Linked DNA regions of Homo sapiens: regions 2, 3 and 4 are each linked to region 1. The links are contacts of gene promoters, found by promoter capture Hi-C in blood cells and fetal thymus (Javierre and others, 2016). All regions are on one chromosome and are shown on one strand. The core of a region is centred on a gene start or on the middle of the fragment in contact, and the rest is flanking DNA. Distances in the headings are between cores, read along the strand shown. Region 1 holds the start of GRM8 (glutamate metabotropic receptor 8). Region 2 overlaps GRM8 (glutamate metabotropic receptor 8). Region 3 overlaps GRM8 (glutamate metabotropic receptor 8). Region 4 overlaps GRM8 (glutamate metabotropic receptor 8).

Region 1 (4,132 bases), core at 866-3,365:
TGGGGTGGAGTGGGCTTCCTGCTATAGAAATCAGGCCACTGCACTTACTTTACACTTCTGGGGGAGGAGGGATCTCTTCCAGTCCCTAAGAAAAGAAAATCTTTAAAGCGTCTTACACGCAGGCGTGCAACCAGGAAGTCCACCCAGCCCCATCTCCGCATAAATTAGGAGCTCTTCCCTCTTCCCACCTTCCTTGTCCCAAGTGGCACCGGACACTGATCACCCTCTTCAGAGCTGCACTAGACATTCACAGGGAATTGAGGTTCCCTATGCAGAAAGGTTTTCAGACAGAGGACCCAGCCCATTTTCTCTCTCCAAATCCTCCTCCCTCCCTCTTTTGTGGTTGCAGCTATAAAATAATGATTCAACAATCAAAGAGCCTCTCATGAGATGGGAGAAGGAAGGGAACGAAAGGGGAAGAGGTGCCCTGGGCTGAAAACCTGTAGATTTTTTCTAAGTGACAAAGGGCAAGGGTCCTTTTTTGAAATTAGGAGAGAGACAGCTGTTTCCTCAATCGAAACTTCGCACATTACAACCAGCCTTGGGAAAAGCCAACACCACCAGGGAGGAAGTGCTATGGGGTTTTGAAGCCAGACACTGATTTCTGGCTGTAATACTTTCCAGCCGTGTCTCTAAGCCTCGGCTTCTGCCTCCATCTGTAGAGTGGGCTTAATAATTTTGACCATCTCACAGAGTTGATGTGAAAATTAAAATAACCCGAACAGAACAGGCGATATATACAGGAATTAATGAAAGATTCCTGACATAATGCTTATAAGTTCATGATGCTTAGGAAGATAAAATTCATTGTAGAGATGCCGAACGGGGGTCTAGAGCTTGCCTTTTCGGGGTCTCTCCCGTCCTTCTCCATCCTCCTTATCTCCTGGGCTGCCCCCTCTCCCCCCGCGCCCCGCTCTCCCTGGCTCGCCCGGGCCTAGGGCGCCGCCTGCAGTTGCGCGCGGCCGCCTCTAGATGGAACTTTCTCACCAACGCAAGGCCCGGCCGGAGCAGCTACCCGGGAGCTGGGCGGCGAGGGGCTACTTTCTCTCATTCCGGCGGGTGCAGGATCGGGGGGCCTGGGCAGTAACTAGTGGGGAGGAGCGCTGGACTGTGCACGTCGAGCCCGGCAGGTTTCCGCATGCGGCATGCGAAGGGAATCCCGAGGTTTCCCTGCAGAACCCGAGCACGGCTCCCCCGGAGTTTCCTGCCCCGCGTCTGCGGCTCCTTGAATCATCTCAATAAAATGACCGTCCCGGTAGCCACCCATGCCCCTTCCTGCGCAGTGCCCGCAGCGGACCGCGCTGTGTGGTACCTCGAGCCCTGGGGACTCTGTTGCACGCGTCCCTCAGACCCTCGGGGGCGGGGAGTGGGGAGACAATCGCCAGAGCCGCGGGGCGGGACAAATGGCGGAACCGCCGCGCGGCGCCAGGCAAACTTTGCAAGGGAACCGCGCGGCTTGCCGGCTCTACTTTAAGCATTCCCGAAAAGAAAGCATGTGGCGGGACACTTGTCATCTACCATGTGTTATTCTCGGTGACGCTTTCTGGAGCTGTGTTCACCGGGGACCCGGGCTCGCGGGTGCTGCCCGCTGTGCTCGGGCGGGCGTCGCGCCTCCCCGCGCCGGTCCCGGGCTCGCCAGGCAGCCGGAGCCGCTGGGCTCCTCCACAACCATATTCCTTCTTCTACCGCTCCCGCTTCTTCCCACCCTCTCACTCTGTAGTTGGGTCCTCCCCTTTTTCTTGGGGGCGGGGAAGGGGGGATGATTTTTAAAAATCAGAACTATTGACATTTCTGGTCTCCTCGTCGCTTCAGGCTGAAGAGCGGAGGGGGATCCGCGGGCCGAGGGTCCCCCTCCCTGCCCGCGCCAGGGCCGCTGGGTGACACCGAAATCCAGAGGCTCCCGCCCCTCGGGGGTTCCTCCTCCCGCTTCCCGAGGTGACTGGTTGGCGCGAAGCGATTGGCGATCCCGGGCGCGATCCTGGCCGCGGCTCCCCGCGCCGCGCCGGGTGAATGGCCGCGGGCGGAGGATCGGGAGGCGCCGGGCGCAGACCAATCGCGGCCGCCGGTGGGAGTATTTGTTATTCACATGGAAGAGACTTGGCGCCTGCTAGGCCAGCTCAGCCCCCTCAGCCCAGAGATCAGCCACAAGTGCGGCCGCTGTGCTCGCCTCACGCGGCGGCGGCGGCGGCGGCGGCGGCGCTGACATGGAGCTGCGGGCCCCCGGCGGGCTTCCTCACCGCGCCCTCTGCGGGGAGCAGGGTAAGACTCGCCGCCCGGCAGCAGAAAGCGGCTCCGAGGAAAGCAAGTGCCGAACCACGGGACAAAAAGCCCCTGGCCCCCAAACTTCCCCAAAACGCCCTGCTTGTTGGAAAAGGAGAATCCCCCCGTTTTATTCCCCTTTCCGTTTTCTTCTCTAAAACCTTTCAGCGGACAGCCAGGTGCACCATTCCTTCTCATATCACTCTAGTGATTTGTTTTTCCTGAGCACAAGTAGATGGCCCTGCATGTCCGTAGTCTGTGAGAGAAATAGCGGGCGGAGGTGACGGGAATGGGGGGAGAAGGAGAGTGGGCACCAGGGGGCGAGGGGCTGGCCGGGCATTGGAGCTTGATTGGGTGTCTGTTGATTTTACGTTGCAAAGAACAAGGCAGCCACCCCTCTTGTCTGCCCATGATTACATTACAGTAAAGAGGTTCAGAAAAGAGGGAGACTTTACCCGGAACTCCCAAGGCTTGGAGATGTGATCCCCCAAAAGTTTAGTCGGCGAATGGGAGACTGAAGGGTGACGGGAAGGGGGCAGGCGCGCTCGGCGCTCTGACTGGGCGTGCGGCGGCAGGATTTTAAAGCGCTCTGCCTCGGATCGTCTGCCCTGGGTGACCTCCCGGACCTGCCCTGGTGGAATCCGGACTTGCCCCGCCGAGATGACGAGGTACCTTCGTTTCGCGAACCTAACAGGAGGGATTTCTGAAGTTAGCGGCTTCCGGGATGAGTCGGGGTAACCCCCGCCCTCTGAGCGTGGGCTGGATGGATGTCTAACCAGGATCTAGGGAGGATGGGGGTCGCGGGGGAAGCCGGGCGCTTCGGGGTCCTCGACACCCACATCCCCGCACGGCGCACGCTCTGCCTCGAGTTTGCGTTCTCCGAGTTAGCACGGCGAGCTTGGGATTTCCGTGCCCCTCTTTTGTGGCTTTCGAGAAACGCCGGAGTTCCGTGTCCTGCTGGGGGTTGGGGGGATGGAGAAAAGGTCTCGGGGATCTTGTTTAAAAAGCAAAGGCAAACGCACCCCAACAGCTCCTCGGTAGCTCCCGCGGCTGGCGCGGCCCCAGTTTCGGGCGGCCCCGCGCGGGGCGTGGGCGCGGGCGCTCGGGCGGCCAGGTGCGGCGGGGGCGGAGGCTGCATCCCCAGCGCGCCGGAATGCCCCGGGGCGCGGGAAAGGCAAAAGCAGCCTGGCGCTCTCCCCACGGCCCCAGTCTCTATCTACCCAGAACCCGGCTTCAACAGCCCAAGGAACTGAGAAGAAAAAGGAACCTGCGCTGGGAAACAGGGGCTCCTGGCGGGCTGAGTGGTCGCTGTTATGGTAGAGATAGAAACGGAGAGGTAGAGATGGACCGCTCAGCCATGCCAAGCGCGAAGCCCATCCGCCCAGCCAGAAAGCTCGGATATCCCTTGAGCTTCGTACAGTTGGTGAAAAAATAACAGAATCACCAAAAAAGAAAAAAAAATTCCCTTCGTCTGACACGCGCTCCCTTGGTGCAAATGAAATGCGGAGGGACACGCGAGTCACCCAGTTGCGCAAAACCGCACCCCCGCGGTTCCCTGGGGAATTACTTCCCCCGTGGCCCAAACTGTGAAGCCTGGTGTCAGAGAGTGTCTGCGCACCCAAGATAGCGGGGGTGAAAACAGACCCCCTCGCCGGTTGCAGAAACCCTTAAGTCCCCTAAGCAAGTCCCACCCCGGGAGGGAGTGCCTTATTTGCCATTTGGGGGATCCTTTCCCACAAACCTGAAGGTGCGGGAGTCTCTGGAACACCCAAGAATACACTAGAGTCTGGGCTACTACCGCGATTGAATACAAATCCTGCCAACTGACAGAACTGGAAAACAGGGTTGGTGGTGGAGATACAAGAAAAATCAT
Region 2 (4,132 bases), core at 915-3,414, 460 kb after region 1:
TGTCTTTGTTCTATCTTGGTAAAATGCAAACGTTGAAGCCTTTTTTCTTAATCCTGAGTTATACACTTTGAATCTGCTTTGGGGCATTCTCTTTGCCCCTATGAAGGTAATGCACACTACACAATGGAAAAAAAAAATGCTCTAAGGTATTAATCCCAATATAATGGAAGACAAGTTGAAGACACTGGACTTGGCAACGTGTAAATATGGGAAAGAATTCTGAGACTTTCTTTAGTGCAGAATTCAGAGCATCTTGATGTCATTTGGCCCTTCTCTTAGAGGCGTTCTCTTCTTGCAGTTTTCCTGGGGTTGTAAACTTATCCCCAAATAAGACAATCTCAAATCATTTTTCAAATACTATCAGTTCAATATTTGTTGTCTCCATCTTACTTTTAATGGGAACATCAAAATATATCTTTAGATAGTATTGGGCTTGAGCCAGACAAAAGTTCATGTTGCTATGAGGGAGAAGAGAGAGAGCAGTCAATTTTGAGTTCCTTTGTTGTTTTACACAATCTTAGTCCTAGGTACAGATTTTAGAATAGTATTTCATGTTCTAAGAGTAGTTTTTATACAATGATTAGACCTTTAAATTTTTCAACACTCTCCCCCTAAAGTTTTTAAGGTCAAAAATCATGAATAAATCCATGCTTGATAGACTAAAAGGTTTTGGCTTCAGAGAATTGTCAGTAGACTTCAAATTGGAGCAGCCTTTCACTTCTGTTACTTGAGAGTTATTGATAAATTTGCACACTGCTGGCTGCAGTCCTAATGAATATATTCATGGACCATGGAGCATGGCATGGTATTTAGAGAAATCCAAAATATGATTTTTTAAAAAAAATAGAGTTGGAAATGTTATTGGTGATTTAATATTTTAAAAAATAACAAGAATATATGCTATTTTGCTTGTAATTCCAGATTAAATGTTAAAAATGTAAATAATAGATGATAAACCACAAATGATGTTCTTAGGCCATTCAGTTTAAGCCACTTTTACTAATGCTATTCACAACACAGATGAAGTATTTATAAAAATTAAGAGGTTTAGCGTGGTAACTCTTATTAAGTTGTAACCTTTATATTGACAGAAAAGCTAGGATAATTATAAGCCATGAATATCTCAAGAATTAATGAACTGCAAGTCTGATAATAACTCATAGGGTGGGGATAGGAAGCTTTCACATTTAATGACCATTTCTGTAGTCTAGAGTTCAGTTTGAACTTTTATTTTTATTTTCAGTAAATGGATTATAATTGTAAAATGTCCAATTAGACTCTCCCATTCAAAAGGAGAGAACAGCGCACTTCTGATCCTGAAATTTGAATTTAACTGGGCATCGTGTATATTTATTTATTAAATCTCGCAACCCACATTTATTTATCCTAAAGAGAGATAAGATGATGAGCTCAGTGTAGGACTGAATTTTATAATGCCTAGAATTGAGACAAGCCCCAGTGGGTCCTCCAAAATTGTTTCTGGGAATAATGATATTTATTTGCTAATAATGAATATAATATCCATGAGAGGAGGGCTCTTCTTTTTGGAGGGTGCTTTAACTAGAGGATCTTAGCCAGAGGAGTCTATGTCATGCATTCACAGAGGGCTAGTGTTCTCCTAGACCAAAAAGGGAGGAATGGGCACACTGTGAACCTCAAATGAGGTGGCATCTTGTGCTTAGTTTATTTTTAATTTAAAGGGATTTAGTGTGTAAACACTAAATCACCAGGTTCCTATGAGCCACTCCCCTATCATTATATTAGTGAGAAATAGTTTGCCAGGAGCCATGACAAATGGTCATTAGGAGTGCCATGTTAACTCAGTGAAGGTCATTTAAGTCATCCACTGGTCATTTATGTTTCCCTCTTTGGTAAACACCACATTTTAAAGAAGTGGATTAATTATCATCAAAATCTAGAGCTATATGCTAATAGATATCAAGGTAGTTTTAGAATTTCACTTTTTTTTCAGAAGCAAGATGATGGCTAAGTGTTTGATATGATATGATATGTTGATGTGATACTGGGAATATACCTTTTAAGGAAATTTCAGGAAATCTGAAATCATGGACAACAGAGATAAATTATATAAAAAAGGCTTAAATGGGCGTGTACTTTTCTCATATTAATTAATTTGTGTTCTTTCTTCATTTACAAAGGTACGTTATGAAGATATATTCTTGTTAAAATTTATTTAGTAACTCCTGAAATCAGTTATCTGATTAGAATTCAGCTTTGTTTAAATTTCATCTTTAAAATCTTAACTCATGTATATTAAGGAAAATTAGAAGCTGAAATTCTTCTTGAGAAAATGTTATTTTAAGGTTCATATATTGATGTTTTATTTTATTGTAAATTATTTTTATGTGTAGACTATGTTGATGTTTTAAATGTGGGGTGACCATAATGGGGAAACTCTGCCTTTCCAAAAATTTTGGGCTTTTTTTTTTTCCAGTCTTATTTTATTCTAACTTCACTGGCTGCAGCAACATACATCCAGTAAACTTAATCTTCTCCCTTACTGTGTAAAACTGTGGATGATTTTGTGCCTGCGTTTATCCACATGGATCCCCATTCATTGGACAATTGGATAATGTCTAAAGGCTCCTAACTTTTTCGCAAGGAGGAAATGCTGTTAATTTTCTGCTGCCAGGTGAACGCTTCAAGGCAGACTGAATGGCATTGAGAGAGGTGGTTGTTACTCATGACTCCTCTCCTAATGGGAATTCTGGTGATCCAAAAAGAGGGATTTGTGACTGTAGAAGCCAATTTTCCAATTATAAAAGAATTTAGCTGATCATGGACACCAACTTTTTGGAAACTCTCATTTTATTTAGTATTTTCTAAGTATTTCCTAAAAATGATGTTTTATTTTAAAAAGATGAGTCTTATGTTGATACTTTTCATTTATTATAAACTTACCTAAAAATCAGTCAACACCTGTAAAATTTTGGGGAAAACAAATGAGTATATGAGATAGTGGAGCTGTGATGGGTACTTCACTTTGCTTCTGAGCTAGATTGTTTCAACTCTGCGCCTAATGCCTGAGAGTTTGTGTATAGTCATATCTTTCGATATCTTTAGAGCCTAGGTTTAGTATCAGTTGTTTTCAATCTCAACTGTCCAGTTGACTCAAAAAGGAAAGCTTTTTAAAAATCTTGCTGTGCCTGAGCTTTATAACTTGGGCTGCCAAATGTAATAAATAAGAACATGGGATGTTTAGTTAGATTTAAATTTCAGATAAACAAGAATTATTTTGTTACTATAAGCATGTTAAAGAAATACCTTCTGTATTTTATTTGGCAACACTGCCCATGGCCGATAGATTCTGGCTTAATTGCTCTGGGCTGAGGTCTGACCATTGGTGTTTTTATAAATTTTCCAGGTGAGTATAATGTACAGCCGACTTGGGAACCACTGGCTAGCTTGGCAGTGTTTCACAAACTGTAGTGTGCGCAGGAATCACCAGAAATCTTTGTGAAAATGCAATTTCCAAATTCCCCTCCAGTTAATTCACTAAGATGGAGTTACAGAACGTTAACAAGCATCCTGGTTAATTCTAGTTACAGGTGTGTGAACCACCACACTTTGACAAACACCGTTTTAGGGCATATTAACAAGCACTGCTATTTCTTTTATTTTTAAATTAGTGTTGTGGTCTTGTTATTTTTTAAAACTCAGAATAATAAAATACCAGGGTACAGCATAATGCACTGGTTAAGTATGAACACTATTTTTATATATTAGAATAAATGATATTGATTAGGAAGATGTTTTTCGGAAGAAAAATCAATATGAATTGTGTCCTGTTGTTTGCTATCATTTCTTAGGTAGCAAATAAAATACATTTATCTTCTGAATTGGAAAATGGGTCTGTGATGACAGTATGTTAACTTTAAGGACCCCATTTTTCTGAGGACTCTAATCTTTGGTAACTGGAGAAAATTACCTTTGGAGACACTAAACCTGGGAATTGCCACTAACAATTTAGGACTGGTTGTAAGCTCCTGCTGAGCAAAATGGCTGTGAGAATGCATTCCACAAGGTTAATAGGCAGATTTTTTTCAAGATTGTATATCAGGATAAATAATGTGGATAATTGACACTGCTAGTGCTAAGGGCTTTTTTTTTT
Region 3 (4,132 bases), core at 768-3,267, 440 kb after region 1:
AGCCAACAAGAAATTAGAGCAATGATATTATGCATTACTACTGCTGATGAGTTAAGACTGATGTGTATTACATCTAGGGCAGAGTTGGTACTGTTAATAACTTCTGTTAGAGTTAATGTTAAATTTCTTAGTCTTTTCTATGTATACGATTTCTGGTGTTGGGAACACTGTTCTGATTATTCATATAAACAATGAGTCAGTAATTCTCCCTGATAGAATGCTTCAAAGGTGGCCTCATTTTGGAACTTGTATTTGAGTCAGAATTTCCAGCCTTGATGATTTATAGAATCAGGGCCTCTGTGTACCAAAAAGACTTGAGGTGTTAGCCTGAGGCAGATGAGACCAGGAATTTTTGTCACGAACTGGACAGCCATGGACAAAAAGAATTATTCATGACATGAGGTTGGAACCAAGGCCTCACATTAGCTGAGTTTACCTATTTGAATCTCTATTACTGTCTTCCTGGCATCAAGTAATTGGCCCATTGTCCAGTGAAGATTATGGAATTCAAATTTAGAATTATATAGAGTCTGATAAACAGGCAGTAAGAATTGGTTCTTTTTCTGGTATAGAGAGACAACAGCAAAGTCTTAGGTTGATTTGTTTAAAGTCATTTGTCCATGTAGGTACAAGTGGAAATGTCACTGATTATAATTTGCTGGGGTATCATTTGATGAGACTAGGATTGCTCAGAGGTTTTTTATCAGGGGTTCTGGTTCTGGTTGACCTATACAGCAGTCTGTAATATTGAGGGCAGTGGCTTATTTTTGAAAAAAAAAATATAAGAATGGCATTAGAATGAGTATGTTCTGACTTAATTATAATAGACAAAAAAAAAAGAGAAAAAGAACCATTATTAGTGGATGACAATCAGAGCTCTATGGAAAATAAGGAGAGTGGTAACAGGTAAGAAGATTGAAAAACAAACAAGAATGCAGGGGTTTTAGGTTGGATGTATTGGGTGCAAGCTGTCTACTGTCCAAGATCATCTTTTTCTGGAGGTTTTGGATCAGCCATCTGCTTCTGAAGACCAACTATTTCTATAATATCTCTAAGAATTCTGTTTAAGTTTTTCTGTTGGAGTAGCCTTCCAGTTGTATAGAATATTGAATTGCTTCTTTAGTTATGAAACATGAATCCAAGGATTGATCTCTGGAGTTTCAATGATGTATTTGTTGTTAAAAGTATCTGATAAGGTCCCTTACAGGGGAGGTTCAAGAACAGTTTTTTCTAATGTCTGTTCTAATAATCAGGATCTCCTGTTGAAGATCATAAAGAGGCTGTGTAGGAAAGGATTGTAAACAAGTTAAGAAGTCAATCTTAACTTATTGGTGATAAAACTGAGTATACTACATGAGCCTCTTTTGCTATTTTGTCATATTTTTGTGTAGCAGGGTAGTCTAATACTGTAGGTGGTGTCCATAAATGAAGGGGCCTTCCAGTTACCAGTTCATAGATAGATAACCAGTAATTCTCTGAGCAGGTGGACCATATGGCCATAAGTGCTGGTGGAAATAACTTTGGCCTCCCAAAGGAGGCTCACGTCCTTCAGAAAGCTTGCTAATTTTAATGATGCTAGTGGTTCTTGCAACTTTTCTAGAAAATTGTGAGTAATAAAGGCAGTGTCATTTTTGAGTAAGGGACAATGCATTACAAATTTCTTTTACAATGGCTCCCATAAAACATGAGCCTTGGTTACTTGTTATAAAAGTTGGTATGCCCCAAATTAGAAATGCATTATCAAGGAGCTTTGTACTGATTGTGAAGGCTGTAGCTTTTCAGCAAGGAAATGTTTCAACCGATCCTGAAAATAGGCATACAAGTTTCATGGAGAATGGAAATTGGACAAAACCTATCTGAGGGTGTTAAGGGTTCTTGAGGTTTCACATCCACCTTTATAGTTTCTCCAAGATGCTGTTGGGTTGACAGGTGACACATGATCTAAAAATAGCCTCATCAGTCCATAAATCTTCCCCACCAATGATGATTTAAGATAGTAACCAATTTGTCTGTACCATGATGAGTAGTTTTATAGAGAAATTTTGTTCATATCCATTGGAAGTTATTCATGTCTCCAGTGTCCTCATTGGGGGTGCCAGAGATGATCTGTGTGAAATGTGCAACCAGAGTTTTTCCATTCTTCCTTTTTAGGACTTTTTAGGAACTTAACATTGATATTTCATAACGGCCTTTTTGAATATTTCAAGGGATTTATTCTTTGAGAGTTTAATTAGGCTCATAACCTTGGTGAAGCCTGCTTATTGGCAGAATGATCTGCTATAGCATTTTCCCCAAACTTTCATACTATCAGTTTTTGTATGGGCTTCAACCTTTGTAATAGTCACCTCCCTAGGAAGCATCTAAAAGTTTCTTTTTTTAAACTTTTAAGTTCAGGGGTACATGCGTAGGTTATATAGGTAAACCTGGGTCATAGGGGTTTGTTGTACAGATTATTTCATCACCCAGGTATTAAGCTTAGTTCCCTTTAGTTATTTTTATAGATCCTCTCACTCCTCCCACCCTACAACCCCTGGTAGGCATAAAAACACATACAGGTAAATGTTCACTGCAGCACTATTCACAATAGCAAAGCTATGAAATCAACCTAAATGCCCATTGGTGGTAGACTGCATAAAAGTTTCCTGTCTGTTTTTGATGGAAGTTCCAGCAGAGATGAGAAACCTCCTTGGTTGCAAAGCATCCCAAAGTCATGTACTACTGCAAAAGCATACCTGCTCTATGTATGCATGTTTACTTTCTAGGGTTTTGTTAGATTGTAAGCTCTAGTAAGCATAATACGTTCTGCCACCTGAGCTGATGGTACCTCAGTTGGAGGAGTATAGAGTGTCCTCCCTTGGTATCTGCTGGGGATTAGTTTCAGGACTCCTCCTACAGATACCAAAATTCAAGTACACTCAACTTTCCTATATAAAATGTAATATTTGCATATAATCTACACATATCCTCCTGTATGCAGTCATGGGCCACATAACAATGTTTTGGTCAATGACGGACTTCATTTGCAACAGTGATACCCTAAGATTATAATACCATACTTTTACTGTACCTCTCCTATGTACTTACCATTGTGTTACAATTACTTATACTATTCAGTATAGTAACATGTTGTATATCTTTACAGCCTAGGAGCGCTAGGGTGTACCACATAGCCTAGTTGTGTAGTAAGCTATACCACCTAGGTTTGTGTAAGTACAGTCTGTAATGTTCGCACAATGATAAAATTATCTAACAATGCATTTCTCATAAAGTATCCCCCTCATTAATTAATGCATGACTATACTTTAAATCATCTCATGATTGCTTAAAATACCTAATATATGTAAATGCTATGCAAATGGTTGTTTACTGTATTTTTTATTTGTATTATTTTTTCTAATTTTTTTAAAAAGCTATTTGTATAAATTTATGGGGTACAAGTGTAATTTGGTTACATGGATATATTGCATAGTGGCGAACTCAGGGTTTTTAGTGTATCCTTCACCAGAATAATGCATATTGTACCTATTAAGTAACTTTTCATCTTCACCCCTCTCACCCCTCCACCCTTCAAAATCTTCGTTGCCTATCATTTCTTCTAAGAACTGGAACAATACAAATATGCCCACTTTCACCACTCCTATTCAATATAGTACTGGAGGTCCTAGCCACAGCAATTAGGCAAGAAGAAAGAAAAGACATTCAAACTGGAAAAAAAAGGATGCCAAATTATCCCTATTCACTGATGATATAATCTTACATCTAGAAAACCCTGAAGACTCTACCAAAAAACTAGATTTGATAAATGAATCCAGTAAAGTTTCAGGGTACAAAATCAACAAATAAAAATAAGTAAACTTTGTATACACCAATAATCATCTAGCTGAGAATCAAATCAAGAAGGTAACCCCATTTATTATAGCCACAGAAAACCTCAAAATACCTAGGAATATATTTAACCAAGGAAGTGAACGATGTCTACAAGGAAAACTACAAAACACTAATGAATAAATTGTAGATGACATTAAAAAATGGAACAACATCCTATTCTCATGATTCAGAAGAATTAATGTCATTAAAATGACCATACTACCCAAAACTATATATTCAATGCACTTCCTACCAAAATACCAGT
Region 4 (4,132 bases), core at 1,061-3,560, 400 kb after region 1:
TCAATTTTTAAGATCCTTTGCGTAAAGATCTTCCTATTCATGGAAAAGAATGTTTATTTTGCTTTTGCCACAGAGTAAATGTACCATGCAATTACAAAGAACTTCTTTATCATTAAGACCTTTGCATCAAGAATCTAGTCTCAGAGAACTTTCTCAAAGGACTGGAAGAAAGGTATGCTAATTCCCCAAATGCCACAAAAGAAGAGGTAATTGTCTTAGCCAAGAAGTCTGCCACCTACAGGGCAGAAGGAAAGAATGCACGAATCTTCCAGTGGATAATATGTCACTTTGATGGGTATTCCCCATAACAAGAATTAAACAGCAATGTGTAACTTACTAACTTTTCCCTGACCTAAGGGCTTCAAAGTTTTATCATTGCTTGGTTTAGGTGATGACTTAGCATTGTTGTATATTTGCTCCCATTTCCAATTCCTTGCATCAAGAAGTCTCCCCCAAGTGAATTAGCTAAAATATTTCCTGCTTTATCTACATCATGGGACTAGATATTATGAATTTATTCAGTAGTCTGATTGACTTCTAAACTTAGTTATATAAAGGAAGATATCACGATGTAACAGAACTCATCCCCAAGGCTACTGCAGACAAAATTAGGAGAATAACAAACAAATGCAAATGAAAGTCATGTAGAAATGGTACTGTTTCCCCTATAAATTCTAATCACTCAAACTGTATGTCCATATTTCAACTGCATCTACTCAGATCCTTCAGAACAGATTGTTAAAAAAAAAATGTGGCGATGTTAGTTTTGTTATTTGATTTTTTAATTTATAAGCATTCCCTGCAGATATCACAGTGACAGCAAATTTATAGAGTGCTAATAAAAAGGATGCACTGGATGGAAATATTTTAAGATATGATATTTCTTCAAGTAATTACTTGAACCAGTAAGGTCTGTAGTTGTAACATTTTGCATATAAGCCTGTTCTTTTATTAATTATTTGAGTTCAGGAATAAAAAAAAAAGACAGAATTTACTTTTGGAAAAAAAACGTAGATTTTTAGTAATATATGAGAAGAAGTACAAAAAGCTGATGAAAGTTCATGCTTCTTAATCATTGAAGCCACTTTTCTCCTTTAAGGAAAGACTCTCCATTCTCACAATCCAGCATCTGGCATACAGCTTCACATGGCAAATGGCATCAGGAAGCCAGGAGTGTTTTCCTGGCAGCCTGGTTGGGCCATCTTCTCCTGGACACCTGCTGTGTTCCAGGGACTTTATCACCTCTTTGATTGCTGGCAGTTCACTTCATGATCAGTGTTAAGTATTTTCTCCATGGGAAGGAAGTGTGGGATATAAAAAATCATAAGAGGGCCGGGCATGGTGGCTCACACCTGTAATCCCAGCACTTTGGGAGACCAAGGCGGTTTATCACTTCAGGTCAGGAGTTTGAGACCAGCCTTGCCAACACGGTGAAACCCAATATCTACTAAAAATACAAAAATTAGCCAGGCATGCTGGTACATGCCTGTAATCCCAGCTACTGAGGATGCTGAGACAGGCGAATTGCTTGAACCTGAGAGGCAGAGGTTACCATGAGCCAAGATCACTCTATTGCACTCCAGCCTGGCTGGGGGATAGAACGAGACTCTGTCTCAAAAAAAAAAAAAAAAAGATAAATCATAAGGGCTGCCCTTTACAAATTCTGGTTCTGTGACTTCCTACCGTGACTTTGGACAAGTTTCCTAGCTGTTCTGAGACTTAGTTTTATCATCTGTAGAATGAGATTAACAGTATGTATCTTCAGGGTTGCTGACAGAATTTAAAATAAAATATGCAAGTTAGCTAGCACAATGTAGATGATCCAAAAGTGGTATCCACTCACCTCTTCACAAACTGTAGTTCATGGACCATGTAAGTCAAGAATTAAGGTACAACTATTATGAGTAAGAAAAAAATAAGAAATACTCTCCAGTTTCCTATGAAAGGATTCATATTTCTTAAGGTTATGGTCTACATCTGTAATTCAATTAAAAATATATAGAAAATATTCTTAAGGTAATAAAAGCCATCTATGACAAACCCACAGCCAACATTATACTGAACAGGGAAAAACTGAAAGCATTCCCCCTGAGAGCTGGAACAAGACAAGGATGCCCACTTTCACCACTTCTATTCAACATAGTACTGGAAGTCCTAGCCAGAGCAATCAGACAAGAGAAAGAAATAAAGGGCATCCAAAACAGTAAAGAGAAAGTCAAAATTGTTGCTGTTCACCAGTGATATGCCTAGAAAATATTTTTGATATGCACTATGGATAATGCAAAAATAGGTAAGTTATTATTACCCTTAAGGAATATTCACTTACAAATTAATTGTAATGCAAGGTAGGTAATGGTTTAAGAGAATTCCAACTAGCTACAGAAGCACAGTAAAGACAGAAATTACTTTTGGTTTAACAGCTAAGGAAGACAAAATAAGACATAGCAGCTAAGAATGAAGTAATCTTAACATTTGCATAAATGTAGATGCGTGGAAGAGCACTCCTGAGAAATTAAATTTCTCAAGGCATGATCCCAGCACCAGCTGCTTCTACATCACCTGGGAATTTGTGAGAAATGTAAGATTTTGCGTTCCACCCCAGACCTAGTGAGTCAGAAATTCTGTGGATTCTTCCAATGATGTGAGTTTTAACAAGCCTTCCAGGTGATTCTGATGCATACTAAAACTATAGCCACTAGATTAAACCATCCAAGTGAAAGTAAGAGCTGGGAAAGATAAAGCCATTTCAGGAGATGGAAGATAGTTCAATTTTTCTGGACTTCATGGTGTAAGAGAGGCAGTGGCAAAAGAAAAAGCTAGGTTGATGTAATCTAAATGAAGGATTTCCCTGTTACATTTAAGCTAGTTTTGGCTTTATTCCACTGGCGGAGGGGAACCATGGAAAAGGCTGTTTAGGGAACAGGGACAAAGGCACTGTGAGAGATTTTAAAACTTGGGAGCAACTCATTTTCTGCCCACTAAAAGGCTCACTGAACCAGAAAGAATTACAGTAGACACATTAAATGGTTTTCCCGGTTCCCTTTCTGGGAAGCATCCACACCCCACCCCCAGTTCTCCTACCCTGATGTTCACATACCAGTCTTTACAGCTGTGAGCCTCCTTCCAGCTATGTTTTCCCAGTTGACCACAACTTCCACTGATGGGCAAGCATGGGTACCTGACTCAGCCAGAGCCAATAAGGATCCATTCCTTTTTACTGCATAGTGAAAAGCAGATTTTATAACTGGGAGAAAGCAAAGGAGAGAGAGGAAAGAGGAAAAGCAAATAACGGAGAAGTTGGAGAGCAAGTGAAGAGAGGAGTGGGAGAGAACAGGAGCACACCTCCAGGCATATGGCCCCTGGGTCCTGCCCATTCCTGAGGCCCAGCACCATTCATAGGTGCCTTAGGTTCCAGGTACTGCCACTGTATCCTTATAGTAAAGTCCCTTTTTTGCTTAAGCTACTTGTTGCTCATCAAGGTGCAATGATATCGAATTTAAGTCTATATGTATACATAATCCTGTGTCAAAGATTACTTATGTAGAATGGGTCATGCATAAAACGACTTGGTTCAATTGTATGTTTTTCTGGGTCCAGGAAGAGTCCTAACTGCTTCATAGGTTAAGTCAGAAACCAGGCTTCCTGTCTCTAGAAGGCAGCCTCTGCAAGACTTGTCCATTAGAGGCTCACCTATTCTTTCTATGACCTGGAGCCTCTTAAAGTAAGTGCAAAATTTAACACAGCAAAATAAAGAGAACAAAGACTTAAAAAAAACAAACAAAAAAAACACCTTGCGACCTCCATCATCTGTTATTACATGTTACAGATCAAACAAAACACTAGTAACTGATGATGCAGAGAAAAGCAGATGCCAAATTCAGCATGCACTGTCTCCAGTGGTCTGATTCTTTCATCCTCTAAGGCCAGTCAAGTAACATCACTGTTAACATAAAATGGCTGAAAGAAACGGAGGAAGCAAGTACTACTGGTATTATTCCATCTGATACATCCTTCTTTGAAAACCCTGGACTTGTGGCCTATATTTATGAAACATTCCATCCATCACAAAATTGTTTTCTCTGAACTTTGAAAATAATGCGGATGCTAGCAAAGTTACTGTTTACTTCTAAAC

What was found. The method cuts DNA at HindIII sites, captures the fragments that hold promoters and counts their contacts. A CHiCAGO score of 5 or more calls a contact.
Region 2: a fragment that was not itself captured here is called in contact with the fragment with the promoter of GRM8 in region 1 in 1 of 17 cell types (M2 macrophages); the score reaches 6.1 in M2 macrophages.
Region 3: a contact is called between a fragment that was not itself captured here and the fragment with the promoter of GRM8 in region 1, in 1 of 17 cell types (endothelial precursors). The highest score is 6.5, in endothelial precursors.
Region 4: a contact is called between a fragment that was not itself captured here and the fragment with the promoter of GRM8 in region 1, in 1 of 17 cell types (M2 macrophages). The highest score is 6.7, in M2 macrophages.

Annotation. Positions count from the first base shown.
Region 1 is chr7:127,250,924-127,255,055 of GRCh38, reverse strand. It overlaps GRM8 (glutamate metabotropic receptor 8), which reads left to right and starts at 2,115. Exons shown (of 11, transcript NM_000845.3): 1 at 2,115-2,259. RefSeq lists a silencer at 848-907 and an enhancer at 1,028-1,277. The HindIII fragment of the contact is 9,242 bases long and covers 1-4,132 here.
Region 2 is chr7:126,794,171-126,798,302 of GRCh38, reverse strand. The region is part of intron 6 of GRM8 (glutamate metabotropic receptor 8); the gene reads left to right. Among named protein-coding and RNA genes, the nearest start is that of MIR592, 260 kb to the left of the region's middle. The HindIII fragment of the contact is 1,967 bases long and covers 1,181-3,147 here.
Region 3 is chr7:126,811,410-126,815,541 of GRCh38, reverse strand. The region is part of intron 6 of GRM8 (glutamate metabotropic receptor 8); the gene reads left to right. Among named protein-coding and RNA genes, the nearest start is that of MIR592, 240 kb to the left of the region's middle. The HindIII fragment of the contact is 918 bases long and covers 1,559-2,476 here.
Region 4 is chr7:126,852,973-126,857,104 of GRCh38, reverse strand. The region is part of intron 6 of GRM8 (glutamate metabotropic receptor 8); the gene reads left to right. Among named protein-coding and RNA genes, the nearest start is that of MIR592, 200 kb to the left of the region's middle. The HindIII fragment of the contact is 4,899 bases long and covers 1-4,132 here.